Regions from separate parts of the Homo sapiens genome. Here region 2 is linked to region 1. The links are contacts of gene promoters, found by promoter capture Hi-C in human tissues and cell types (Jung and others, 2019). All regions are on one chromosome and are shown on one strand. The core of a region is centred on a gene start or on the middle of the fragment in contact, and the rest is flanking DNA. Distances in the headings are between cores, read along the strand shown.

Region 1 (6,977 bases), core at 889-3,388:
AATAACTCTTTTGTTAAATATAAGTGTTTCTTTAAAAGTCATAACTGTATTGATAGAGTTAAAATGACATTCCATTGGGTTACAAAAAGCAAGGCTATCCTTTTTTTTTTTTTAAAGTACTGTCTTTAATTCACTATTTTCCAATCCAATCAATAAATCTGATCTGACATTTTCAAGTTCGTTAGGTAGTTAGAGATTATGCTGGTTTCTGCATCCAGGCCTTAACACAATAAATGATATGTACATGCTTAGAGTATGTGTTTTCTTTAATATGTAATATACATTTGTTTTTTCTCTCTTCCCCCATTGTAAATCTTGTTCAGGACATGCTCTACATTTCCTCCTTTATCAGGCTGCATGTAAGAAAATACGTTGTCGTCTACTAATCTGAATTGTTGTGTCTTTGATACCTCAAAGAGGTTATTGGGAGTTCTAACTGATAATTCAAACTCATACTTCTTGGGTCAGAATACAGTTCTTGCTTTTCAATGATGTCAAGGCCCACCTCAGGCAAAGTATAGGCTTCTGAACCAATTTCTTGTCAAATTAGTAAAGAAGGGATTTTTCAAACTTCAATTTTGGAAAAGGAGATAACTTTTTCAAACTGTAATCTCTGCCAAGATGCTATGCAAAGGATTTACAAAGGAATCTATAGAACTCAATTCTGCTTCTTAAATACGCAGAGAGGAGTTAAAGATTTCAAATCTTTTAAAAACATAGTGATTCAGCCACGTTCTGTTTATCTGTAAATCTAATAGTGTATGTAGTTGAACTCTTAAAATTCTGGAATGTTTATTTTATTTTATTCATTGTCTTGAGAGGAGCAAAAGGAAGCGAGAGGGCATAGCTTTGAAGAACTGGCAATTTGGCAACTTCTCTCCCCTTGCCACCCCTCCCCCACTATCTTAGCTATTTGATCTGATTAAACAGCTTTGGAATGGTAGCCAGACTTCTGTATGCTAACGAGGCCCCTACCCTATTCGCGATTTAATGCGATTTCATCCCCCCAGAGCTTCCCGGTGCCCAGTGGAAGCCTGACTTCGCAGAAGTCTCCCAATTTTGTCAGGGGCTCGCCAGTGAAGAGTTCACACTGACTTGAAGCAGACACAGACTCATTGGACGCCTCGGGTCACATCGGATTATTCATTAGCAAATTCTTTCCACCTTCTATCTAAGTAGTGAAAGGTGACGCCAGAATCGCGTGTGCCACTCCTCTAAAGGGACCCTGATAACACCCAGTCCAGGCTCTACAACTTCTGCCTAGTCACTTGCTTCCTAGCAGTAGAAAGTTTCCAAAGGTTGCCTTAAGTCCTCCCTACCCCTAAGCCTAAAGATCAGAGCTCCAGGTCCCACCACCTAGCAGGAATCTGAGCATTTTGGAAGTTTCTGGTGTAGAGGGAAGAACCGAAGGGGTGGTAGCGGGGAACCGCGCAGAGTAACCCCCCTGCACTACGTAAGGAAAGCCCTGGCTGCAGGAGGGAGCGAGCCTGACATTGAGACGTTCCAGGGGGAGGGTGAGTTGCTGTCCTGGAGTCGCCAGGAACAGCAGCGACAGTTCCAAGAAGCGAGAGAGGAAGGTGGCCGAGATAAAGAGAACACTTCGGGAATAAGAATATTAAAAAGCGGCAGGACCCAGAGCATTAGCAAACGGCAGAGCACATGTAGTAATTTGTTAACACGAAACGGCAGCCTTCCAACTTTTGCACTGAAACACGGGGATTTACCCTTTGGGGGATTAAAAATGTTGATACGCAAAGCCAAAGGCTAATGAATAGGATTCAGTGGCTTGCTGGCAATATTTAAATATTTCTGTCCGGGAGCGCAAACTCTTCTGCAGTTATTTAGAAAAGTAGGGAGTTAAACCAAACTATAATACTCTCCCGTGCGTCTCCACTTTCCCCAGCCCGAAAAGGAGCTACCAGCGCTGTACTGCCCCTTTAAGACCTGCTGGCTCTCGGGCTCTACAAAAGGGAGTGACCTCTGGGCTTTGACAGCTCTCCTAATAACTACCACGGCGCAGGCCCCGCCCACCTAGCTACCAGCAGCGCCGATTGGCCGGCGGGCCGGTATCCCGCGCTGTGATTGGCCCGTCGCTTCCCCTGAGCGAACCTTTAGAACTCTGAGACAATATTCTGTTACATTGTAGCAAAATGGCGACTGTCATTCACAACCCCCTGAAAGCGTAAGTAAGACTAAAAAATGTACATATTCCGCGTGGTTTCAATATGAAAAAAAAGGCGCCTTCTGCGTGGCGAGCGCTGCCAGAGCATTGCGCTTGCAGGCGCCTCCAGCCGCGGCGGGGCTTCTCTCTTCTTTCAGCTCTTACTTCTTCATCTTCTTTTTTTCCCCCAACGCGCAGAAATGTCAGGAGATGCAATTAACAAGAAGAAAATTGTTACATTTGTGTTCTGCTAAATTGCAGAGAGAGCCAGATATAGGGGTTGCAGGCGGAGAAGCCCGGCGCTCGAGCGCTCTACAGCAGGAGGGTCGCGGGAGCTCGGGGACGGCGCGGTCCCCGGAGTCCCCCGCCTCGCGGGCAGGGAGCGCGGCTTCGGGGGCTGCTGGGCGGGGGGCGAGCGTCGGGCAGTGGCCGCCTCGGTGTACTTGGCCGAGCCCCGCGCCCCCGAGCCCGCGGCCCCCGCCCCGCCGCTGGGTCCGCTGGGTCCAGCGGACGGACCGCGGAGGCTCCGGAGTTTGCAGGGCGCTCTTCGCCTTCCGATCGCTCGCGGGGAGTTTGTGCAAACCTTCCGGAGTTGGAGCACCGCGGGGGAAGCAGCGGGTCCCGGGCGTGCTGGGGCCCAGGTGGTCGCCCCGGGCTTTCCCCGGCAGCCCCCGGATCTCGGAGGCGCTCCGGGCGATCGAGCGTGTGTCTGCTCGTGTATTTGCGAGCGAGCTGGCTTTAGTGGATTAACGACTCGGGTTAACTTGGGGTGGATTTGGAGGCAGGGAAGCCGCAGGTCTTATGAATGGTGTTCTCGCCACCTCTGGGTGAGGCGCTGAGGCAGGCGGAGAGGCGGTTTTGGGGCTCCTGGCCCGAGGGGGCAGCGTCTGCTCCCGGCCGGGCGAGGGGCAGGTGCCTCTGGCCGCCTCGGGGAGACTTTGAGCGCTTGCCCAGATCCTGGACAGAGTGGGGCGGGCCGGGCGAGGACTCGCGGGGGCCAGCCCCGGGTCCAACAGCCAATTTCTGCCTGCCTGCCTTCCTCCTCCTTTTCATCCTTCCTTCCTTCCTTCCTTCCTTCCTTCCTTCCTTCCTTCCTTCCTTCCTTCCTTCCTTCCTTCCTTCCTTCCTTCCTTCCAGTCAGTGGAACTGTTAAGCCGCCAAGTCCGCTCGCGATCGCGGAGCCAGGGGTGGCCTCGGAAAACTAGTGTCGCTCTGAAAGGGGTGCTATTGGGTGATGTCGGCAGAGGGTGGCTCCCTCCGTATCCGAGGTGGGCTGGGGGGTCCTCACCCCTTCGACCGGGACTTCCCCGCCCGGACGAAGCCGCAGGCGAAGTGGCAGAGGGAGGTGCAGGTCGGGTGGGGGGCGGTTCATGCCGAATTCTCCCTGGTGCGTGGCCGCTGTCGACCCTGGTTCTTTTAATTCAGCGCATTCTCGTCTTCACCCCTGGCCACTCCTGGAGTTGAAAACCAGGTTCGCTCCCGGGGACGGTAGGGGGTTCCTAACGCAAAGGAATGCACAGGGAGAATCGGACGTGTTTGCGCCAGCTCGTCGCCCATCAGAAATAGGGAAAGGGGTAGGAAGGCCCCAGGTTTCAAATATATTTATATGAAAGCTGCCGTTAAGAGGACGTTGGAAGCTGAGGCTGATCAGATAGGAGCTCCTGGCTTCAGTTCTGGCTCGGAAGCTCGGATACACTGCGCTTGAACGCCACAGCGTTTCACCCAAGAAAGAAAATGTTTTATGGCAGAATAAATGGGCGTAACTTCGCCGCATCCTCGCTGCCGGTTGCTTTCGCTGCAACACCGCTGATGCTGTTTCTACCGAACCCACAACTGATTTTCAGTTTCCCCATTTCCAGCCGAAATCACATAACCGGGCTGATGCCACCTGGTAAACTCAAGTTAGAGAACCTATTTCACATGTGCACCAGGTTTGTTTCCTCCTGGGAAAGCCGTACCCTAGTTACCCGGGAGCCCGCTTTCGCGCGGGCGGGCGCAGTATCTCTAAGCTTGTGTTCCCCTACTCGCTCCAGGGTTTTTTGGATCACAGTAGGGTGCGTGTTTGGGGAGGGAGTCTGTGTAGGGTGGGGTTAAGGGTGGGGGAAGGGACAGACGCGGGAAAGAAGGTGGCGGAATTCTGGCCGGTTAGTGGAATTAGTTCTGAATTGTACTTTGTATAATTAGAAACAGTTGCAACGTGATGTATTTGTAATTGTGTTGCCACCCACATGCAGACACTAGCATACACACAACGCCCCTGCTTGCTTTTTCTAGGTGGGAGTTGCTTGGTCATTTATAATTAGCTATTCCTTTCTGCTTCCCAGACCCTTTCCCTGTGAGTAAAGGGGTATAAACAATACCACTGACCAGCCCAGCCTCTCACACCCTGGACAGTTTTTGACAACTCCTAACGCAGGAGCACACACGTTGTTATTGGGAGAGGGACACCATCTGCCTTTATTTTTTTAAAAATAACTTGTTTAATAAAACATCTTATATATTTCATTTGTTTTTAAAAGTTGCTGATCAGGAAACAATACACACGTGAATAAATTATGCATGGGATAAATTAGAACAAAGTGCAGAGACACATCCAGCCGAAGGGATGGTGGTGGTGCAGGGAGGAGGGGTAGCGGGGAGAATGGTTTGGAGAGCTATGTTTTTATCCTCATGTGTCCCTCCTGACAATGAAACAGAGCTGAACGACATTAGCATTTTCTCTGTGTGCGTTCTGAGTCTCTCTCTTCCCTCCAAAAAAAAAAAAGCCAACACCACGGACGTCTCCTACAGAAAATGGTCACACAAAGGTTTCCTCAGGATGGGGGGATAAAGTGGTGGTAGTTAATGTGTTGGGAAGAAACAAGCTCAGATTTCCAGCAGCACCTATGCAGGGCTCTGCCTACGCTGAGTATGGGCTATTTTTCACTGTACTAGCTTTTTCCACGTGGGACATTCAATAATTCAATTAGCTGGGGTGATGGGATGGCACAATTTTGAATCTCATTGCTTTGGGGTTTTCCTTAGGGTCCCAAGCTCCTGAAGCCACATCTCCTCTCTTAGCAATTTGGCTTTCTTCCTGCCTGTCTTTGATCTCCCCTCAACTCCCTTTCTTTTTCTTCCTTGTTGTACCCTTCACCCCCTTCCTCTCTGAAGCTGACAGCCCAGCTTCTCTCTCTGTTGTCGCCTTTAACATCTTATTACTGCCCAACAGGGTGTTAGAGGCAGAAATAGGAGCCGCCTGCACTGATCAGATCACAAAGGGGACACGGCAGGTGGCCCCCACAACCAAGCAGTCACATCTGGACAAATAGAATTCAAAAGCACTGGTGGACATGTATGATGTGTAAATGTGTATTACATATTATTTAATTTAGCAGCTACATTGTCTGAGCAAAGATGTATGAGAGTTACCCTCATTTCTTACATATACAAGCGAGATAAGGCCCAGGTAGTGAAGTAAACACATGCAGGTAACATAAATATGGATTTGATAAAGGCCTGCATGTAGATTAGTCACGTTCTGGTTGATTTGTGCATACCTGGGAAACATAATGCTATTATTATTATTATTATTATCATTATTTTTTGAGACAGGGTGTTGCTCTGTTGCCCAGGCTGGAGTGCAGCAGCAGGATCTTGGCTCACTGCAACCTCTGCCTCCTGGGTTCAAGTGATTCTTGTGCCTTAGCCTCCAGAGTAGCTGGGATTACAGGCGCGCACCACTACACCTGGCTAATTTTTGTGTTTTTTAGTGGAGACGGGGTTTCTCCATCTTGGCCAGCTGGTCTCAAACTCGTGGCCTCAAGTGATCTGCCTGCCTTGGCCTCCCAAAGTGCTGGGATTATAGGAGTGAGCCACGATGTCTGGCCACATAATGCTTTTAATATAAATTTGAATCTTAATATTCTAGTTCAGATAAACCACCTTCCCCCAAATCTGCAATCAGTACTTTAAACAACTTACTCTTGTATTATCAAAATCCTGGTTGGTATGCATTTAACTGAGAATGTCTGCCACCTTCTGCCAGACTTGATTATACACATATATGTCTATTATTATAATTGCCTACTTAGAAAAAAATTATTATTATTAAATTCCATATGAACCAACAGGGCTTTACCTTAAGTAATTATTTATAAAGAGACCCATAAACTATTTTGTCATGCTTATAACTGTGAACACACACATATACGTGATTGTATTGAAACTTTCTTTTGTAAGGAGTTAACCTTGCTTGGAGGTATGTGTTTATGTCCCTGTTTTGTTGTTAAGAACACTACTCTGGGAGAAGAAAATAAACTTACTTAGCCAAGTCAAACAGCAGGTCATGTGTGTAGATGAACGTCAAATCTAGATCTCTTTGTGCATTCTATGACCTGTATTAGTGTATTCTAATCTAAAGTGGTTTTGTGCATGTGAAAGTTAGAAGCCAGACCTCACTCTTGCTGTGGCACTCAGTTTAGATATCAGAGGGGAAGGGGTGGGGGTCACATTCCTGGTTCTAATCTCCTCTTAGCTCTTTCTGTCGAGGTTGGGGGGATGTGGGTAGGTACTAAGTAGACAGCATTGAGGCCGGGACTTTGTGAACTTGCTGCCTTTTATGGACATTGTTTTAGCTTCTTATGAAAAAGGACCCTCGGACGTTGTAAGCCAACAGATTCCCAAGAACCTGTTCTCCATCTGCTTCTGGTTGCCACTATAAAAAAGCCCTAAATTCTCCAAACCTCATTAGCACACATTATTTTTCAATGGGTAAATGTCTGCTTTTGATGAGACACCTATGATGGAGATTAATGTCTGCGAGAACCCAAGTGGA
Region 2 (6,955 bases), core at 1,198-3,697, 260 kb after region 1:
CAGCTCAGATGCACATTTGGCTGCTGAGTTCTGTCATGCTCTGGAATGTGCTGACTTTCCTTCCTTGGGAAGATGGCATGACTGAAGCGTGTTATTATTAGTAGGGTAGCTTTTGCCCTGATCTGTCAACATTCCCTCACTCGGGGTCTTTATTGAGCAAGGACAAACTAGAGAACCTGTGGCAGTAAACACAGTTGACCACCTTCTCCTTCTTGAAACCTCTTCTTTTGGTTACTGTGACCCCATACTCACCCGATTTGCTTCTTACCTCTTGCCATGTTTCTCTCTTTCCTTTGCTGGTTCTTTCTTTTGATCTTGGAGGACTTGAGCTCCTCCAAGCTCAGTCCTAGACCCTTTTCTCTATTCTCCTTTCTTCTCTCCTCTTCCTTTCTTTCCCTAGATACTTCCTCATTCCCTTTTCCCTAGATAATTTCATTAATTCTCATGGTTTCACTTATCACCTATTTAGCAAAAACTTCTGAATTTCGACCCATACATTCAACTATCCACTCAACATTTCCACCAGAATTCTCAGTTTCAGCATGCTCAACACAGAAGGAATCCTCTTCCTCTATGTGGTCCCTGCAATCCTTCTACAGTCTTTCTCATCTAAGTTTCACTGTAATCTACAATCTACCTAGTTTCATGGGTCAGAACTTGGGATTATTTCTCATCATTTTCCCATATTCCCAACATTCAAACAATAGTCAAGTCCTGTCAAGTATTTCTTTAACATTTCTCAAATTTCCACCTTAGTTGAATCATTCTTGTATCTCTCCTGGTAGCTGCATTAGCCTCCTAACTAGCTTCCTGGCAACAATTCTTACATTCCTGTACCCTCCCACCCCTCAACAATTCTTTCCTTAGCGTACAGCCCCTTCATCCTTCCTTCCTCCCTTCCCCTCCCCTTCTCTTGTCCTTCCCCCTCCCCTCTCCCTTTCCCCTCCCCTTCCCCTCCCTTCCCCTCCTCTTCCTCTCTCCTTCCCATCCCCTTCCCCTCTTCTCTCCCCTTCCCCTCCCTCCATCCTTCCCTCCTTCCCTTCTTTCCCTTCCTTCCCTTCCTTCCCTTCTGTCCCTTTCATCTCTTCCCTTCTCCTTCCTTCCTTCTTTCCTTCCCTCCCTCCTTCCCTCCCTTCCTCCTGCTTCTTTCCTTCCTTCCTTCCTTTCTTCCTTCCCTCCTTCCTCTCTCTCTCCTTTTTCTTATCTGCCTTCCACCTTCCTTTCTTTTTGATGATTTAATTTTTTATTTGTTTTCCTTATTTAAAAATATATTTTCAACTATTTATTTTGACATAATTATAGCTTCATAGGAAGTTACAAAATATATTACAAAAAGTCCTTGAGCTCGTCACTCAGTTTTCTCCAAGGGCAACATCTTATGTAATTATAGCACAATATCAAAACCAGGCAATTGATATTAATGCAATCATAGACTTTATTCAGATGTGACTAGTTTTACATGTACAAATACATATGTGTATGTGTATGTACAGTTCTATGCAATCTTATCACATATGTAACCACCACAATCAAGATACAGAACCACTTCATCCCAATAGCACTCATGCTAAAGAGTGCTCCTTTAAAAACAAAATGTGACCCACTTACTGCCTTGCTTAATAGCCTTTAATGACTTAAAAAACAGATTCTTAAATAAGGGCTGCAAATGCCTGTAATCCTTCTCCAGCTACCTCTGCAGCTACCTCTTACCCCTTTCCTTTTGCTCATCAAGCCTCTGCTCACTGGCCTTTCTCTTCCTTGTAATTTGCTAAGCTGCTTCACTGCTCAAAGCCTCCACCCATGCTGTTCCCCTTACTTGGAATCCTCCTCTTCCCACCTAGCTAACGTCTCATCTGACACATATCAGCTTAAAGATCTTTCTCAGGGAAGGTTTCCTTGTCATCTCAGTCTAGGTTAGGTTCTTCTATGTGTTTTTACGGCCAATTATGCTTTTCCTTCATGGCACTAATTATACAATTGTAGTTGATAGATACATGTGTAGCTGATTAATCTGAGGCCTCTTTGGCTAGGCTGGAAGGGCTCAAGGTATCTTGCTCATCCCCACTGTGTCTTTTCTGTCTAGCACAATGGCCTGCCTTGTAGGTGCTCAATAAGTACTTCGTAAGTTAATGAATAGTTATCCTAAGCTGGCTGGGTGTGGCTGGGGTGTGGCACAGAACTGGCCAAAGTCAACTTGCCTATATGAGCATCAGCTCCATGACCTCATGTTCATGCTCTCAGTGGTGCCTGGTCAGAGAAACTGGGCATCTGTGGTCATACCACATGGAGTCCCAAACAGATATTTCCTACCCTGTACCCATCCCAGTGTTCTCTCTGAGAGACTGGAATAGGGAGTAACCCTGGCTAATGTTCTTCTTAGACCAATCTTTGAGATGCTTTCAAGAATATCAGCTGGCTGTTCACACAGGCTTTTAATGTAAGGCTTCTTTTTCTTTGGGGCCACTGTGATGGTATCACCTTGAGAGGGTTATTAGTTCAGAGCTGCGGAAGTCTCTAAGTTGGATGGTACCTGAGAAGTCCTTGAAAAGCTTTTAGATCAGGCCTCTCCTTGCTGCTTCTGCCTGTATTCACTGAGTGTCCCCTCCCCACCACCAACAAGTCATTTCTACACCCCTCGCCCTCTCCAAGATAACTCAGCATGGTTTCTATTTGTGGAGCTCAAAATGTGAAGGATCCTTATGTTGGCTGAATAGACAGTATTTCATCCAAATGGTCATGATGTGAACAGCTCTCTGAAGATTTGAAAGGGAGGAAATGGGGGCTCCTGTTAAGATGTGGCTTTGCCAAGGGGTGGTGGCGCCATGGGGGATCCTGTCTGTGGAGGATACTAGGTTGGCGGTGCTAACCATGATTGGTGTCCCCTGTCTCTAGCATCCTTCTTTAAAGCATATAATCCTTCAAATGAAAGAGGCAACACAAGGCACCATATAATGGGTTTGGCAGAACTGGAAGCTCTGGAGAACGGTGAGTGCTCGGCACTGGGCAAAGCTGTCAATGTTTTTTGTGACAGAGTCAGTAATTGGCTTTGCCCTGGGTGTTCTGGGCAGATTCTGATCTGTTTCACAGTACTGGGCGACTTGGGAATGTCATCCAAGTTATCCTTCCATGCCACATAGAAGGCCAAGGGTCTTTGCATTCTACAGTTCATGGCCGTCCTCTCCCTGCAAGCATCTCTCTTTTAGGTGACCTAGGTCTGAGGACAGAGTCCAGTTCCACAGGCCAAGTCTTGGGCATGGCTCACGGGGGCTGTGCTTGAAGGTCACAGCTTAATGTCCCTTCTCTCATCTTGTGATTGGGTTGGCTCCCATGAAACTTGGGATGGAGAAAAGAGTTAGAACCGGGAACCAGTCCTTTTAGGATAGACCTGGCCATTTGCTCTGATGCTCCATTTCTTTGCCATCCCTGCCAGGCCACTTCCTTCTGTAGTCCGTGGTACTGTTCAGGATATGAACTTTTGCTAGTCTCATGAGTGTGGGCATGGATACTTTAGGTAACAGTGCAATGCCTCATCCTATCCCTGAGCACTGACCCTGGAAACCTCATACAATCCTTCTGATAGCCTCCCTTGCACCCTAAGGCAGTGTGAATAACTGGTTGGATCAGAAGGCCCAGCTCCAAATAGTTCTTACCTGTTGTGCTGCCATAGCTGATGCTGGGGCTTGGAGGGTCCCACTGGTGTCTCTCATAGTGCTGCCCCAGGCTGTGTACTCTGCAGTTTCCTCTCTCGTTCTCTCTGATCATTGTTTTCCATCTTCATCAACTGGTTACACCTGCTGGGGAATATGGTCTCAGTGCAAGCAGAATTGGATGTGCTTATATCTCTGTTTTGCCCTTGATCTGAATAACTGGGTGGTGAAGAATGTGGGTAGGGCCCTGTTTGGGTCCCCATTTTTTTCCCTACGTCATGCTACCCTGCCCTGCCTGCACACTGGGCATCAATGTGTTTCCAGTGAGTGGTGTTGAGGGGTGGCAGTTCATACTTTGGCCCTAATGCTGTTGTTTCTGGCTTCCTCCAGGTCACCCAACCTGCCTGCAGTTTACCCTGAACATGACCGAGGCTGTCAAGACCTACAAGTGGCAGTGCATAGAGTGCAAATCCTGTATCCTCTGTGGGACCTCAGAGAATGATGTGAGTTTGGGGCTTTCCCTGTGGGAGGGAGAAATCCACAGAGCTGGGGTCCTTTGAGGGGTGAAGAGGAAGGAAGGACTCTTGTCACTAGGCCCCTGGGGCCTGTTACCCTGGCACTTGGGAGCAACCTGGCCATTAGCCCTTGAGGGCTCAGAGACTGACAGTGGTCAACACTGCTTATGGCAGGGATGTATTTGATTGTTTCCACCACATTCCACAGTATATGATCTCATTTGGTCTAAATGTTAAATATAATAAGTGCAAAATTTTCAAGAACATTTTTTATTATGGGCAATTTCAAACATATACAAAGGCAGAGAGAATAATAGAATTGATGTAAACCATCACCAGCTTCGACAAAGATCAGTACACGTCCAATCTTATTTCATAAATACCATGACCTCCCTCTCCATAGTCTCCGTCATAATATCATTTTTACCTGTAACTACTTCATATGTATCTCAAAAGGATAAGGACTTACTTTTATACCTAAATAACCAAAATATTACATAGCTAAAAAATCAATAATTCCTTAGTACAATCAAACATCCAGTCGTCTCATATTTCCTCAGTTGTCTCATAAATGTTTCTATTACAGCCTGTTTATTTGAATTGGGATTCAAATAAGGCCCATACATTGCAATTAGTTGATATGTCTTTGAAGTTTATTTAAATATCTGTAGGTGCATATAAACTTACATATAGCTTCTTTAAATAACACATAGACTTTTCCCTCCATCTTATTCTCTTTCTTCCTCCCTTAAATTCTTTGTTGAAGAAATCAGATCATTTGTTCAAGTTCTCATGACTGTATTTGACTGAGTATATCTCTGTGCTGTCTGACATTTTCCTCTGTCTCTTGAATTTCTTGTCAATTGTTAGGGCTAGAGGCTTGATTCAGATTGTCTGTCTCTTTTTCTGTGTCTGTCTTTATCTCTCTCTCTCCTCTCACCAACTCTGTCTCCATCTCTCTCTCTCTCTCTCTCTTTTGGCAAGACTACTTCATAGATGGTGGTGTACACTTTCATCAGGATGTATAATGCCTGATGTTTCTCTTTTTGTAAAGGTAGCATCTATTGATGACCTTTGACTGGATTGACTATTTTGTTAGGGGTTGCAAAATAGTGATATTCTTATTGGATAATTTCTTTTTTGTTTATTGCTGGAGTAATTCCAGGAAGATAAACTTGCCCAATCTTTCATTTGGTTACCTTCAGGTGTAGATCATATAGAAATGGCAGGAAAAAAATGCTTGATTCTTTCCCTTTGTCAGTTTTAAAAAAACAGTGTGGTTAAAATATCTATTTATGATAAAAACATTAAAAATAGTGATTGTGGGATATCTTCTTAACATGATAAAGTATTTGTACCTTAGAACTAAAGCCAGTATCTTATTTAATGAGGAAAACACTAGGCACAATTCCACTAAGATTAGGAACCAGGGGAGGATGCTCACTATCTCTATAACTATGATTCGACACTATTCTAGAGACATTACCTAATGCAATTAGACAGGAGAATTTAATTAGAGATGTAAGAATGGATAACAAAGTAATAAAACTCTATTTTTGTATTATATGATAGTATATCTGGAAAACCTTAGAGAATCAATGATAAGCTAACTCAAACATAAAAGGTAACAGATTATAAAACTAACACACATAATTAACAGCCTTCTCATATACAAACAATAACCAGTTAGAGAACATAATTCCATTTATAATAGCAACAAAGAAGAAATACTTAGGGATATATTTAACAACAAATGTGCAAAACCTATATAAACAAAACTTTTAAACACTTTTCAAAAACACAAAGAACAAATTGAAAGGCATCCTATGATCTTGGATAGAATGACTTGACATTATAAAGATGTCAGTTCTTCCTGAGTTAATTTATAAATTTATCTCAGGTCCAATAAAAATATCAACAAACTTTTTTTATGGAGTTAGACAAATCGATACTTAAGTTCATATGAAGAAACAAACATGCAAAAATAGGCAAGAAAATACTGATAAACAAACTGTGATGGAAACTAGCCCTACCAGATATTAAAACATACTGTAAAGCCTCTATAGATAAAACAGTGTGGCACTGATGCATGAGGAGAGAAATAGACCAGCTGAGATAGAATAGAAAGCCCATAAATAGATCCAACTACATATGGAAATACAGTATAGGGTAAGGGTCACATCTAAAATTACTGGGTCAGAGACAGACTTTTAAATGAATGGTGCTGGGACAATGGGGTAGCCATTTGAGAAAAGACAAAATTAGATTTATATCTTACACCATACATAAAAATAATCACCAAATACATTGGGGATCTAAATGTACAAAGTAAAACCACGCTAGTACTAGAAGAAAGCACAAGTAAATTCCTCTTTAATCTAAATACAGGAAAAGGTTTTCAAACTGTGACTCAAAATCCAGAAGCAATTAAATAAAATGTTGGTATATCTGACTACATAAACATTTTGCATAGTCAAAAACATGATAAAGTCAAAAGACAACTGACAAACTGGGAGGAAATTTTGGCAGCATGTACCACAGTTTAAGGGCTAATTCCCTATATAAAAAGAAGTGTTAAAAATTGAGGACAAAGGACCAGAAACCTGATAGGAAATGAGAAAAATACATGAAAGACAACCCACAAAAGATATAAAAATGACCCTTAAAGATGCAAAAAAAAAAAAAAGTTCAAATGCACTCACAAAGAAACTCAAAGCTGAGATATCATTTCTTACTTATCAGATGGGCAAAAGTTGAAAAGTATGACAATATATCCTGTTGATGAAGCTATGG

Evidence for each region. Contacts are between HindIII fragments. The study calls those that stand out against the background at their distance.
Region 2: a fragment that was not itself captured here is called in contact with the fragment with the promoter of DPF3 in region 1 in 2 of the 25 tissues and cell types used here (dorsolateral prefrontal cortex and lymphoblastoid cells).

What each region holds. Positions count from the first base shown.
Region 1 is chr14:72,889,262-72,896,238 of GRCh38, reverse strand. DPF3 (double PHD fingers 3) reads left to right here and starts at 2,138. Exons shown (of 11, transcript NM_001280542.3): 1 at 2,138-2,182. The coding sequence starts at 2,151. RefSeq lists an enhancer at 1,884-2,178. The HindIII fragment of the contact is 9,541 bases long and covers 1-6,827 here.
Region 2 is chr14:72,626,819-72,633,773 of GRCh38, reverse strand. It overlaps DPF3 (double PHD fingers 3), which reads left to right. Exons shown (of 11, transcript NM_001280542.3): 9 at 4,038-4,150. It also overlaps a transcript of RGS6 not described here. Among named protein-coding and RNA genes, the nearest start is that of MIR7843, 110 kb to the right of the region's middle. The HindIII fragment of the contact is 9,871 bases long and covers 1-6,955 here.